2 separate regions of the Homo sapiens genome follow, and region 2 is linked to region 1. Evidence: promoter capture Hi-C in human tissues and cell types (Jung and others, 2019). All regions are on one chromosome and are shown on one strand. Each heading gives the region's core, a stretch centred on a gene start or on the middle of the fragment in contact. The rest is flanking DNA. Distances are from core to core; before and after follow the strand shown. Region 1 holds the start of TIMP4 (TIMP metallopeptidase inhibitor 4). Region 2 has its middle 48 kb from the start of PPARG.

Region 1 (6,710 bases), core at 1,500-3,999:
GCTGTGCTTTTTCTTTCCCTTGCTTTCTTTCTAAATATTGTTTTATGTTTTCAGGCCAGTTTAGATCCCACCTACACAATGAAGCTTCCCTGATAGTTCACAACTACCAAATAGTTCCGTTCTCTGAACTCCAAAATAATTTAATGTTGCATTCATTTATGGAGTCATATTTTTGTGTGATTCTTTAACTGTTCTATCCCAGCCAATTCAGTATGGAGGAATCCTGCCTGGGCCCAAGTTCACAGAGACAGAACTATGTTAGACTCAAGCTCCTGTTAAGTCCTGTGCAAAAGGCAGAGTTGACCTGCAAGGAGCAGTTTTAGAGAGGAGACTTCGACTCAAGTTGCCAAAAATCTTATACTAATTTAAACTATTTGAAAAACGGAAGCAGCTGCCCTACACTGGGTGAGCAGCCTGTCCTTAAAATAGTGAAACGGTGGCCAGGGTCACTGTACTAAGAACTCTTACATTTAAAGGGAGGTTACAAGGCTCCTCCTAACCCAGAGGTTGTCTGTCACTAACACAGCTCTGTTTTATGCCCAAGAAAATGCCACCTGGCTCAGCCTACTGCCCAAGGAAGACCCTGGCTCCTTTCTCACTACCTCCCCTAGGGCAGAATCTATTATATTAAGGCCAGTTGTTGGTCTTTTAACTTACCAGTCAAGAGATACTGCTTCTGGCTGTTGGCTTCTAGTTTCACACCACAGAGGGAAGAGTCAAAAGGCGTATAGATATACTGAACATCCTTGACTTTCTCAAACCCTTTGAACATCTGACAGGCAATTACAAAAAAAGGCAATATTGGGTCAGTGAGTGTACTGTATATATTAACAGACAAAAACCTCTCACTTCTCAGCCTAAAAATGTAAGCAAAAGTCTAGTTGAGGATTTTGTGTCCTCAGATGTCCCTACTGGGTTATTTTCTCTCTTAAAACAAAACAACAACAACAAAAAACACCTAAACCTTGGTTTATTCCAGTAGGTACCTGTAGTGGCACCATACACCAGCAGCTGTGGGACCAGATGGATGCTGAGGCCCTCCCTGGCAATATCCCTGGGATTCTATGGGCTCTGCCTCCAAATCTCATCCAGTTCCACTTCAGTATCTAGACCCAAGGATTACTGAGCCAGGCCACCTGAAAGCTACCAGCCCTCCCAGAACACAGACTCCACTTTCTCCATCAGCCTTAGGGGCTACACATCCCAGCCTGCCCCCATGTACCTTTATCTGTTTGATTTCATACCGGAGCATTTTTTCAGTGTCAGCAGGGTCTGCACTGGCCGGAACTACCTTCTCACTGGAGATTTTGGCCCGAATCACTGCATAGGAAGAGAAAAGAGGGAACCTTCAGCAGCTGGTGGGGGCAATACACCTGAGGTCTGGATGATCCAGGGTCCATGAAGAAGTCTATAGGGCAGTTCTTGGTTTTGGTGTGGCTGGGTTGTGAGCAACGTGATGTGTGAGAAGGGGGACCTGGAAACACCTCCCCTGCAGTCACTGGAAGTTCCAAACCCCTCAGGCTTATTAGGTCCTATAACCGCTAAGCTGTTTCTGCCTTTTGAACCAGTTAGTCTGGAGAGCTCTAGTTCTCCATAGCCGTTTGTGCAGTGGGGCACAGGGTAGGAGTCAGAGTAGAGAAGGGAGGAGGAGCCCCTTCAGGGCAGTCGGTGTGAAGTTTATCTATTGCTGTGGTCAAGGCCTCTCATCCCGCCTACAGTTGATATTAGTAAATGTTTATTGAATTCATAAATGTTCTGACCCTGCACTGAGGTATTGCATCTCTTGCCATTTGAGCATTAATAACCAAAAACTGTTGATGATGTTCTTCCTCTGTGCCTGGCCTTGCACTAGGCACTAGGCCCATAGATGTGATTAAGACAGGGTCCCCATCCTGCCGAGCTCTTGATCTAGTGGAGTGCACACGTGTAAAGAACAACAGCACAGCATAGTAGGAGCGCTAAGACGGTTAGAGATGCTGAGGCGGCACCAAGGAGCCCGGGAGCCTGCAGAGAAGGGGAGAGACCTAAGTTAGCCCTTGAAGGATGAGTAGGAGTCTGCCAGGAATTTAAGGGTGTGAGGGAGGGCATTCCAGGCAGAGGGAAGAGAAAGGACAGAACGTGTGTGTTGCCATAGGGGCTTGGTGGCAACCTCAGTTATAGGCCTGGACAGACACGGGTAGTTACAATGCAAGCCCTCTCCCCTCCCCTTTCTGTCCCCAGTCTAGTAGTTCAGAATAATCATCAGATAGCTCCGGTGACACCTTGTGTAATGACACTCCATAATTGCAGTATGGCCGGAGTGAGGGAGGTCGCTATGGAAGTCCCTGATGAAATCTTCATTTCCTTATGAATCAGTCAGGTTCTGGGCTTGCAAGGTTGCTATGGCGCCTGGTCCTTCTCCACCCATCAGCCTCAGCAAGAGACAACCGGTAAGAATTTGAGCTCCTCCCTTTTCCTCTGGACTCCTGGTGTACTGCTGGCCAGATACTAATCCCCCACAACCACCCCCTGCTGTGGACCTCGCGGACCTCGGACTCACCAAGTGCCGAGTGGCAGATGTGCTGCTGAGGGTGCGCCGGGGCGCAGCTGCATGCCTCACCCAGCCCCGGGGGCCGCAGCAACGCCAGCAGCCGCAGCAACAGCACCCAGCTTGGCGCGGGCCGAGGGCTCCCAGGCATGACACTGCAGATCCGCGACTGAGCCTGTGAGGTCTGGGGGACTGGACGGCCCCAGCAGGGCTCCTTCCCAAGGCCGTTGTGCCCCTCGCCCCAGGCTTTATGAGGTGGCCCTAAGGGCCAATCCCGCCCCGACGGGCTCCGCCTTCCTTTGGCTCTAGGCCACCCGCGGAGGCAGGACCCGAGGCTCTTCCGACCTGCATACTCAGTAAGATGCAGAGGGAAGCCTGGAAGGAGGCCCTGACCTCTGTTTCCCTGCCTAAGTCATGAAGCGATCTGGAAGCAGAGGGGAAGCACTGGGAGAGGGGATGGTGTCAAGGGCAGAAAGACGGAAAGAGCCACAAAGACAAATGCATGAGGACAGAAAAACTGAGGGCTGTGATTCAGGCAGAAAGAACAAGAGTGAGGAGAGGCACAGACAGAAAGAGTGAGACAGGCAGAGTCCCAGAGAGGCAGACAGAATTACAACAGGCAAAAGAGACAGTGACAGAGAAGGACGGACCCCTTGCTGAGCTGCACGCTGGGAATGAGACGAGCTACTCAGGGCTTCTTTCAGCTGCAGGAAGTGCTTTCAATGCCCTATTTATGAGGCTCCAAAGCAACAGCAAACAGTAATAGAACAGGACAGAGAAAGTTGGGGTGTGTGTGTCTTGGCTCTGTTGCCTGGGGGGTGGGGAGAGATGTCAAAGAAGCAGCCAGTGCTTTAGAAACCCTTTCTCACTCCCAGAGCCTCAGACTCTCCAGATAGCTGGAGACAGCGCTCTTGGTGTACAAAACACAAAGTGTCCCATCACTTAGGGCAAACCTTGGACCTCAAAGCCCTCTCGAGGCCCTAGACTACATTGATTTTTATTGCATGTCCCTTCTCACTGGAGACTCTGTCATGTTCTAGAAGGTGGGACAGCTTAGAAAACAAAGAAGCAGGCTGGGCGTGGTGGCTCACGCCTGTAATCTCAGCACTTTGGGAAGCCAAGGCGGGTTGATCACCTGAGGTCAGGAGTTCGAGATCACCCTAGCCATCATGATGAAACTCCGTCCCTACTAAAAATACAAAAGTTAGCCGGGCGTGGTGGCCTACACCTGTAGTCCCAGGTACTCAGGAGGCTGAGGCAAGAGAATGGCTTGAACCCAGGAGGCGGAGGTTGAAGTGAGCTGAGACTGTGCCACTGCACTCCAGTCTGGGCGACAGAGTGAGACTCCGTCTCAAAAAAAAAAAAAAAAAAAAAAAAGTAAAAGAAAAAACAAAGAAGCAGGGGACTTGGGGGTGACTGTGACCAGAGCCTTGTCTGCTGTTTGGGCACAGTGTTGCAAGCCTCCAAATCCCAAATCTCCATGGGATTATTGCTGTGGGATGTTTCCACATGGTGCTGGACTGGATAGTGGGAGGCTGGGTTCCAATTCTGACTGTCACTGTAGCTTTGTGACTTTTGCCTCTCTGGGCCTCAGTTTTTTCTTCATAAAGTAGAGTTGAACTACGTGATTTCTAAAGCCCTTTGAAGTTCTTCTTCCCATCCTTGGCTGGCCTCAACCAGGAATGCTGAGATCCTCAGGCCAGATACCCCCAGTATCTGTTCAAATCTTAGTTCCCATAGGAGTCTGACTTTTCATCAGGGTCAACATTATTTCCTTCAAAGGATACCTTTTCATTTTGATGGTGTTAGTGATATTTGAAAAGAAGGGAATTGAAAGAGAGCTGAGTCTGACTGAAAGATGAAATGCCCGGGTTAGCATCCAGGCTGGTTCTTCATACAATGTTCAGACCAAGATAGAGGCTGATGTACTATTTGAAGGGAGCTCAGAAAGCATCCCATCTGATCTCTTCATTGGACAGATGTGAAGGCTGAGGCCCAGTGAGATACAGTGACTTGTAGAAAGTCCGTGGCAGAAGAGGACTAGAGTACTCGTCTCCTGACATCTAGCCCAGTGCTCCTTCCACTCCACAATATTACTTCTTACATCACCATTTTGTAGCAGCTTGAAATCTTGCCCTTAGAGGATAATCCTTCTTTTAAGGTTTTGTTGCTCCTCTGTTAAAGTATGGCTACCTCAGTGTAGAGTTCGCTCCCCTAAGGATCTCTCTGCATTTATAAACATACTGAATTCTTCTACCGGCTCTCTTTCAAACCCCAAGCTGGGAAGAAATGGGCCTTCACATGCAAAGCCTTGTTTGGTGGTGAGATTGGGGTATTGGTGAGCAGTGAAGAGTGTGAAAGAGGGAGAAAACAACCAGGATCATTACAGGAAAGCTGGGCCTTTGAAGGTTGTAGGTACCAAGAGGGTACATGCTGACAGGGACATCAAGATGCCAAAGATGTGTTTTTAAAATAAAAATACAGGTTTATTAAAGTACATCTACATATAGTAAAGTTCACTCTTTCAGAGATACTTTCTTTTTTTAATTCTCTTTGTCTGAGGGCCAGTCCTGCCCAGGTTTTGTCTAATGCAGAGAAAATTGACAGTGCATTTTAAAGATGTAGGGTATACCAAATAAGAGTACAGGGTTCTTGTAGCACTGCCACTAATATGCTCTGTGACCCTGGGAACTCACTGTCATTCCATGGGTCTCAGTTTTTTAATCTGTAAAGCAAGTAGATTGGACTAGTTCTTTAAAGAACCCTCCCAAGGGTATTCCCAAGAAAAATATGTGTAGGATTCCACGGAGAGATGGGCACACTCTGACAGTTTATTCATTTCTCTTCTGATTTCAGCTGACACTGCCCACGTTCCCTGTGGTGGTGAAGATTGGCCACGCTCACTCAGGCATGGGCAAGGTGAGGCAGAGAGGCCTGCTGTGCTTCAGGGTTGAACCAAGAAGGGCAGTTTTCAGAGCGCCCATTTGTGAACTGCTATTCTCCCTCTGTCACTGATGAATTCTTTCCAAAGAGAAGATGATTTGCCACCTCTAAAGCCATGAGTGTCACCCAACCAGACCTCTTTCAGTAAGCAGAATGCAAGCCACCTGCTTGGTCCTCTGGGTCCTTTGCAGCAAGTGTGGCCCTTGAGTTCTGGGAAGGGAAGCTAGGGAGAAGGGGCCTCCTGGGGAGATGTGGCACCCAGATTAGTGTCTGGATCGGATACATATTGGTGGGTTTGGAGGCTCAGGGCCCTTGTGACTTCTCAGTGTGTGTATGTGTGTGTCTCCCTTTCCCCCTTTCTGCCCTGCTCTAACATTAGGTCAAAGTGGAAAACCACTACGACTTCCAGGACATTGCCAGCGTGGTGGCTCTCACCCAGACCTATGCCACTGCAGAGCCTTTCATTGACTCCAAGTATGACATCCGGGTCCAGAAGATTGGCAACAACTACAAGGCTTACATGTGAGTAAGAGTGGGGTATGTTTTCTCCTCAGTGATGATGGAAAAGCTGAGCCTCCACATTGCAGCCAACTCTCAGATAACAGAGAGGGTGCCACTTAAGTCAGAGATTTTTTTACCTGGGTTCCTTTTAAGTCAGAGGAGGGGTCTGTGGACTAAGATGAGAAAATATATTAATATTCATTTTCACTTGCCTCTAAGGGAAATTTAGCTTTCTCTTCATTTTGAACAGAGACGACAGACTACATTAGTTACCTGTACATAGGAGTTTGTCACTAAAGGTGATTACTGATTTTCTTAGATCTTAGATCTTATAGTTGAGACACATATCTCTATGGATTATTCTCATTCCTACTTTAAAATAATGGTACTTGTTAGGCTTGCCACTACCTCCTGTTACTTAGAAACACATATTTTACTAATCACAGATTTGTTTAATATTTTTGATAACTCTAATTGGGTAGCTCTGGGATCCCATGTACTCTATCTTATACAGTTACACATCTTATATATTGTGTTCATTGGAAGGAATCCATAGGCTTCCCCAGACTGCCACAGCACAAAGTTAAAAAGTTCCTGGTATAAATATCCAGCACTGAAAAATGCTACAGAACATTAAAAGCCCAGTGCATGACTTCTCTGTAACTGTGTCCATTTGCCAGGATGGAAAGTTAAAAATTTCCTGCATTAGAATTTAGTAAAGGAAAAGATTTCAAAACTA
Region 2 (6,452 bases), core at 1,007-3,506, 81 kb after region 1:
AACTGAATTCACTCTGTGGTGTCTTTTCCTGCTTTCTCATGTTATGATTCTGTTATTTGATGGGCACCAAAACATTGGGTAGTGCTGGAAAGAGAATCCTGTGTTGTTACGGAAGAACGTGTAAGCTTCCCCCAGGGCCACGTGTGAAAATACAGTTAGTAGCCGTGCGCCAGGAGAAATTATCTCTTTCACTAAAGATCATAGCAACACAAAAAATTCGGAAGTTTTCCTGTTTATTTCAGTCTTAGTTTCTTCTTTACCATATAGGATGGTTTGGGTTTGGTATTTATTCACTTATGTATTAGAACTATGAGAGCCAGGTTTTTTGTTGTTGGTTTCTAGGTCCATAAATATGTATGTAAACATATATATTAATAACTTTAGGCATTATTGATAAGAGGAGTGTTTCTTTTTTTTCACTCGTTTGGTTAAATTCTTCCTCCTTGCCTAAGTTCCAAATTTGGGGTGGTGTAAAGAAAATGTGAGACACACACACACACAATGGAATACTATTCAGCTATGAAAAAGAATGAAATCATGTCTTTTGCAACAACAGGGATGGAACCGGAGACCACTATCTTAAGTGAAACAACTCAGAAACAGAAAGTCAAAACTGCATGTTTGGGGTGAGGGATGAGAAATTACCTAAAAGGTACAATGTACACTATTAGGGTGATGGTTACACTTCACCACTAGGCGATACATCCATGTAACAAAACTGCACTTGTACCCCTTAAATTTATACACTTTTTTTTTAAATGGGGGTAATGGATGAGTTTAGGGGAATGTTCCTCTAGTATGGAGTGGGTGAGGAAGCTGCGCTTTTCGGCTCACTCTGTGATCTCTCCAGGGGAATGCTGTGGTTATAAAGTGTACGCATTCTTGTACTGGATACTCATTCTTGCATTGTCCTCAGTTTTTAAAAAAATGACAACTAGATCACACTGGTTGGCTGCTTTCTATTATGCTAAAAATGCAGCTAACAGGTATCTACTAGAGACAAAGCTGACTATTAAAATAAATTTAACAATTCCTGATCCCAGTTTGGAAACCTAAGGGTACAAAGCTTTTTTTTTTCCCATAATGTGCTAAATAAAACTTTCAAACTTATGCATATAATTATGAAGGCAAAGAGTCAGAATTATAACCCATCTCAGCAAAAGGCAAGCCCGCTTAAGGCATATTTAAACAAAGCCCATTTGCTGAGGCCTGAGATAAGTGCAGTGTGCATCTAGCCATACCATCCCAAATATTTGGCCCCAACGTGCCAGGTTCTACCAACTGTCGGTGTGTTTTGGGTTATGCCGTTTGGATGTTTTGTCTGCATGGCACTGTGTATCTAGATGTTTGAAAACATCCAGATGATAGACTTTAAAATTTTTGTTTTGATGGGATATTTAACATTATAATCAAGAAGCATTTCCAATCAATACATGGGCATCATCAGCTTTCAAAAAAGCTTAGGCTTTATTTTATTTTAGATTAACATGAGAGAGTAAAAACGTTTATAACTATTATATTTTAACTCAATTTTGCATATTGACTTTACATTTGCAAGAATTACAGTCTGAAACAACATAACCAAAAAGCAATTAAACCGTCCCTAAAGTATTTAGAACATTCTCACTCGTTGTCTGCTTGTCTTTTTTTTTTTTTTTTTTTTTGACATTAAAATTTGATCTTTGCCTTATTGGAACTATGAAGAAATCTAAATCTGAATAGCCCTTTTTATAATACACAGCCATTGTTTGTACTTGCAAAACTGGATTAAGAAATCACTGGTATTCTTACACGTTTTTTAATTGCCAAAGAAAATTCAGCATATTTCTGCTTAGCCTTGAAATTTCCACCAACCAGACGGAGAGATTGTGCACCACCCACACCCTTCTCCTTGGCTTTCCCAAGTCCCCAGGGAAATCTCAGCTGGAAGCCCGAATGACATGTCCACACTCCTCTGTGCCTTGCTGTGTTACAGCTGTCCTGCAGGTGAAACGATTCCCCTGCTGAACCCACGAGGAGGTTGAGCACTTCATTTGTTCAAATCAAACAAACATCTTCCCTATGCTTCCCCCATTTCCATCCTGTCCTGTATTGAAAACTACAGGCAACAACCTCTCTTGGGGAGAACACTTTTCCGTGTGCTTCTCCTCCTTAGTTTTAGACATCACACTGCACTGGGGTCATAACAATATTCTTTTTTTTTTTTTTTTTTTTTTTTTTTTGAGACGGAGTCTCACTCTGTCGCCCAGGCTGGAGTGCAGTGGTGCGAGGTCGGCTCACAGCAAGCTCCGCCTTCCTGGTTCACGCCATTCTCCTGCCTCAGCCTCCCAAGTAGCTGGGACTACAGGCGCCCACCACCACACCTGGCATTTTTTTTTGTATTTTTAGTAGAGACGGGGTTTCACCGTGTTAGCCAGGATGGTCTCGATCTCCTGACCTCATGATCCGCCTGCCTCGGCCTCCCAAAGTGCTGGGATTACAGGCGTGAGCCACTGTGCCTGGCCAACAATATTCTTAAGCAGAAGCACATTGCAACACATGTAATGAGTACAGCCTCCTTTAGTTCTGCAAATGCCTGTTATTCAAGCCCCAATCCCTGCCTTTCCCTCTCCCTCTCAAAACCAGCACACACACACACACACACACACGCACCACACACCACACTCACAGTTTTTAAAAACTGGCATAAGAAACTAAATTCCCCCAAACCACCATCCCTGCATTCTGCTTCTCAGATACATCTTAATGATTTTCACCTCTTTCTTCTACTGTGTCTTCTGTTTCTTCTGATATTTCTTTCCATACTTCTAAATGCTATGCTTATATTGCCTTTTTTTTTTTTTTTTTTGAGATGGAGTGTCACACTGTTGCCCAGGCTGTAGTACAGTGGCATGGTCTCTGCTCACTGCAACCTCCGCCTCCCGGGTTCAAGTGATTCTCCTGCCTCAGCCTCCCAAGTAGCTGGGATTACAGGCACCCACCACCATGTCTGGCTAATTTTGTTTATTTTTAGTAGAGATGGGGTTTCGCCATGTTGGCCAGGCTGGTCTCAAACTCCTCACCTCAGGTTATCCGCCTACCTCGGCCTCCCAAAGTGCTGGGATTATAGGCGTGAGCCATCGCACCTGGCCTACGTTGCCTTTTTAATAGCCTCAGGAATCTCCCAACTTGAAGCTACAGAAGCTGTTAATTTAGTACGCTTACTCTCCACCCGCCACCTTCTTTCCTTTCCTTTATTCTTCTCTTTCTTTCAATATAGTTTGTGCGTGTGTGTGTGTGTGTGTGTGTGTGTGTCTGAGACAGGGTCTTGCACTGTCACTGAGGCTGGGGTGCAGTGGCACGATTATGGCTCACTGCAGCTGCAAACCCCTATTTTCAGATGATCCTCCCACCTCAGCCTCCTGAGTAGCTGGGACCACAGGTACACCCCATGATGCCTGGCTTGTGTGTGTGTGTGTGTGTGTGTGTGTGTGTGTGTGTGTGTGGTGTAGGGATGGGGTCCCACTATGTTGCCTAGGCTGCTCTTGAATATCTGGACTCAAGCAATCCTTCTGCCTTGGCCTCCCAAAGTGCTGGGATTACAGGTTATAAGCCATTATGCTGGGCCTCCCAATATAGTTTTATCATAATTTTTGGAAAAATGAATGTTCTGTGTTTACATTATTATTATTATTTTAGAGGAGGGTCTTGCTCTGTTGCCAGGCTGGAATACAGTGGTATAACCATGGCTTGCTGCAACCTTGACCTCCTGGGCTCAAATGATCCTCCCACCTCAACCTTCCAAAGCCCCCGGATTACAGGCATGAGTCACTGTGCCTAGCCATTTTTACATTATTATTACCACGTAAATATTGTTCATGAGCAAGCCACATAGTACATTATATGTATATTCCTTTTTTTGTACAAGTTAATTTTTCTCGAGTTAATAATTGCCTCCCACTTACTTTTTTTGTACAAGTTAATTTTTCTCGAGTTACTAATTGCCTCATTTTTGCTCATTTGTTTGTTTTTACTACCACCAATTCTTCCCAAATTCTCTAAAGAACTGTAAAACTCAGTTCAACACAGACACATCGGATAGGTAACCTATAGATATAATTTCGGGGGTGACATCTCTCTGGGAACCCTTCTATCCTTCCACTCCAGGTGGGACTAGTTGCCCTTTTTGGCCTCCTACCCTGTGTCAACCTTGCCTCTACTGTCATCCTGAGAATTGCCCTCCCTTTCTCTGGTGTTGGTTCCCCTGGTTCCTGGATTCTTGCCTTCTTCGTAATTAGTTTACTCCGCCGTTTTGTTGGAGCACATTCTGTAGTAACCTCCTAAGAAAAAGTAAGTGGGAAGCAATTTTTTAAACTTCCTAAGAAAAAGTAAGTGGGAGGCAATTTTTAAAAAAACCTTTTTATTTGTGAATAATGTCAAAATTACAGAAGAACTGCAAGAATATCACATGGTACACTCATACAATCTCCACCCAGATTCTCTTTTCTATTCTGTTTGCTTTATACACACACACACACACACACACACACACATGAGAGACAGAGACAGAAAGAGAGAGAGTCTATGTATATATTTTTTGGGCCAAGTGTTCTATCTAATCTACCATCCATATTCCAATTTTGTCAACTGATCCAAAAATGGTTTTTGGGTATATCTTTCTCTCTAGAACAGGATCCAGTCTAGTGTCAGAAATTGCTTTTAGTTGTCATGTCTCTTTAGCCTACTTTAGTTGGAAATTTCCACTTCTGTCTTTTTCCTTCTTTACACATTTTTTAAAAAGAATAAAGTCCTCTCCCTTTTATTTTAAATAGAATGCTCTTCATTTTTATTTCCTGATGATTCGGGTTATGCATTTTTCTAGTCAGAATACCACCTCAATGTGTCATTTTTTAGGACATCACATGTAAGAGACACCTACTGCCCATTTGCCCCTCACTGGTGATGTTAATTTTGGTCACCTGGTCAAGGTGCTATTCAATTTCTCCATGTATAGTTGTTTTTCCCCCTGCAATAAGCAATCTGTGGGAAGACATTTTAAGACCATGCTATTATCCTCTAATTATTGAAAATTTGCCCTGAACCAGAATCCATTAATGATTCTTGCCTGAACCAATCTTTACTATGATGGTTGCAAATGACAATGTAATTCCTGCACTCCCTTCACATTCACCAGTAAGCCCTCAGCATTCTACTGAAAGAGCCTTCCCTTCTCTTCCCAGCCACCCATCCATCTACCCTTGCATCCACCCTCCCATCCAAAATCTGTCCATCCATCCATCCATCTATCCATCCATCCGCCCTCCCACTCAATAGCTAGCCATCCATCCATCCATCCATCCATCCATCCATCCATCCATCTCTTCATCTATTCATCCAATCTATTTATCCACCTATTCATCCATCTATCCATCTATTTATCCATATATCCATCTATCTATCCATCCATCCGTCTATTATCTCCCTTTCCTTGGTATGGACTCAGATTTCTGGTATTTTTTCCCAATGGTTTATCATTCCCTGTCTCTACACTGTATTTCTAGAATTCCTATTTTAAAAATTCTAGCACAGTCCTCTAGTTGTCTTATCTTTCCTCTCTGTTTTTCACCTGCTGGCCTTTTAGTTCTACTTCCTGGGACTGTTTCTCAACTTCATTTTCTAATACATGTATTGACTACTTTTATCTTTTTGGTTTTCAAGAGCTCTTGCTTGTTTGTGATTGTTCTTATTTGATGGGTACAATGTATTCTTTGTCTCCCAGAATATTGTTGCACCTGTTTTCTGCTTCTGGCATTATTTTCACTGAATTCTCTTTTTTTCAGATTATTTGCTTTGATTTTTTAATTATTTGTGTCCCTTTCATTGTGGAGGTGTTTCTCAAAAGTTTGTTGATATTTGACAGTTTATTTTTAAGAGTGAGGCATGATCAGTGTTTGTTGAATGGTGGACTTTGCTGTGATGTGATTCAGTAAGGCCCATTCATTCCATTGAGATGCCCCTAAATGTCATTAACTATAAATATTTTTTCTCCTAAAGTAGTTTCTCCAGGAGAGAATCATGCAATCTTCCGTTGGGGAGAAAGCATACTGGGGGTTAGGAGGGCTGTAGGGATGGTTGGGGAAAGTGAGGGTTATAAGGTTGGATGCCAGAGAACAGAGGAGGGACTCGTGTCACAGTGCTCACCTGTACCCTCCATTATGCCTACAGTTCTTGTGCCAGAACCTCTCTTCCTCTTTCTATTTCTCCAAAGAATAAACCTCCATTCTTTTGTAGGGTAATGGAGGCATAGTGACTTCACTGGATGAAGGAATGGAATAGACGTGGAAATGTTCTTGATACAGGTTTTCAGGCAGTTTTCAATTCTCCTCATCCAAGGTTCACCTGATACATCCAATTCCTGAACTTTCTAGGGTTCTGTAGAATGAATCAACCCTCTTCTCATTGCTCTCTGCATT

Evidence for each region. The method cuts DNA at HindIII sites, captures the fragments that hold promoters and counts their contacts. A contact is called where the count stands out against the background at its distance.
Region 2: a contact is called between a fragment that was not itself captured here and the fragment with the promoter of TIMP4 in region 1, in 6 of the 25 tissues and cell types used here (IMR-90 fibroblasts, adrenal gland, aorta and 3 more).

What each region holds. Positions count from the first base shown.
Region 1 is chr3:12,156,163-12,162,872 of GRCh38, forward strand. TIMP4 (TIMP metallopeptidase inhibitor 4) reads right to left here and starts at 2,750. Exons shown (of 5, transcript NM_003256.4): 1 at 2,540-2,750; 2 at 1,223-1,320; 3 at 658-772. The coding sequence starts at 2,678. SYN2 (synapsin II) reads left to right here. Exons shown (of 13, transcript NM_133625.6): 6 at 5,384-5,446; 7 at 5,850-5,992. The HindIII fragment of the contact is 15,405 bases long and covers 1-6,710 here.
Region 2 is chr3:12,237,591-12,244,042 of GRCh38, forward strand. No RefSeq gene overlaps it. Among named protein-coding and RNA genes, the nearest start is that of PPARG, 48 kb to the right of the region's middle. The HindIII fragment of the contact is 6,139 bases long and covers 1-5,326 here.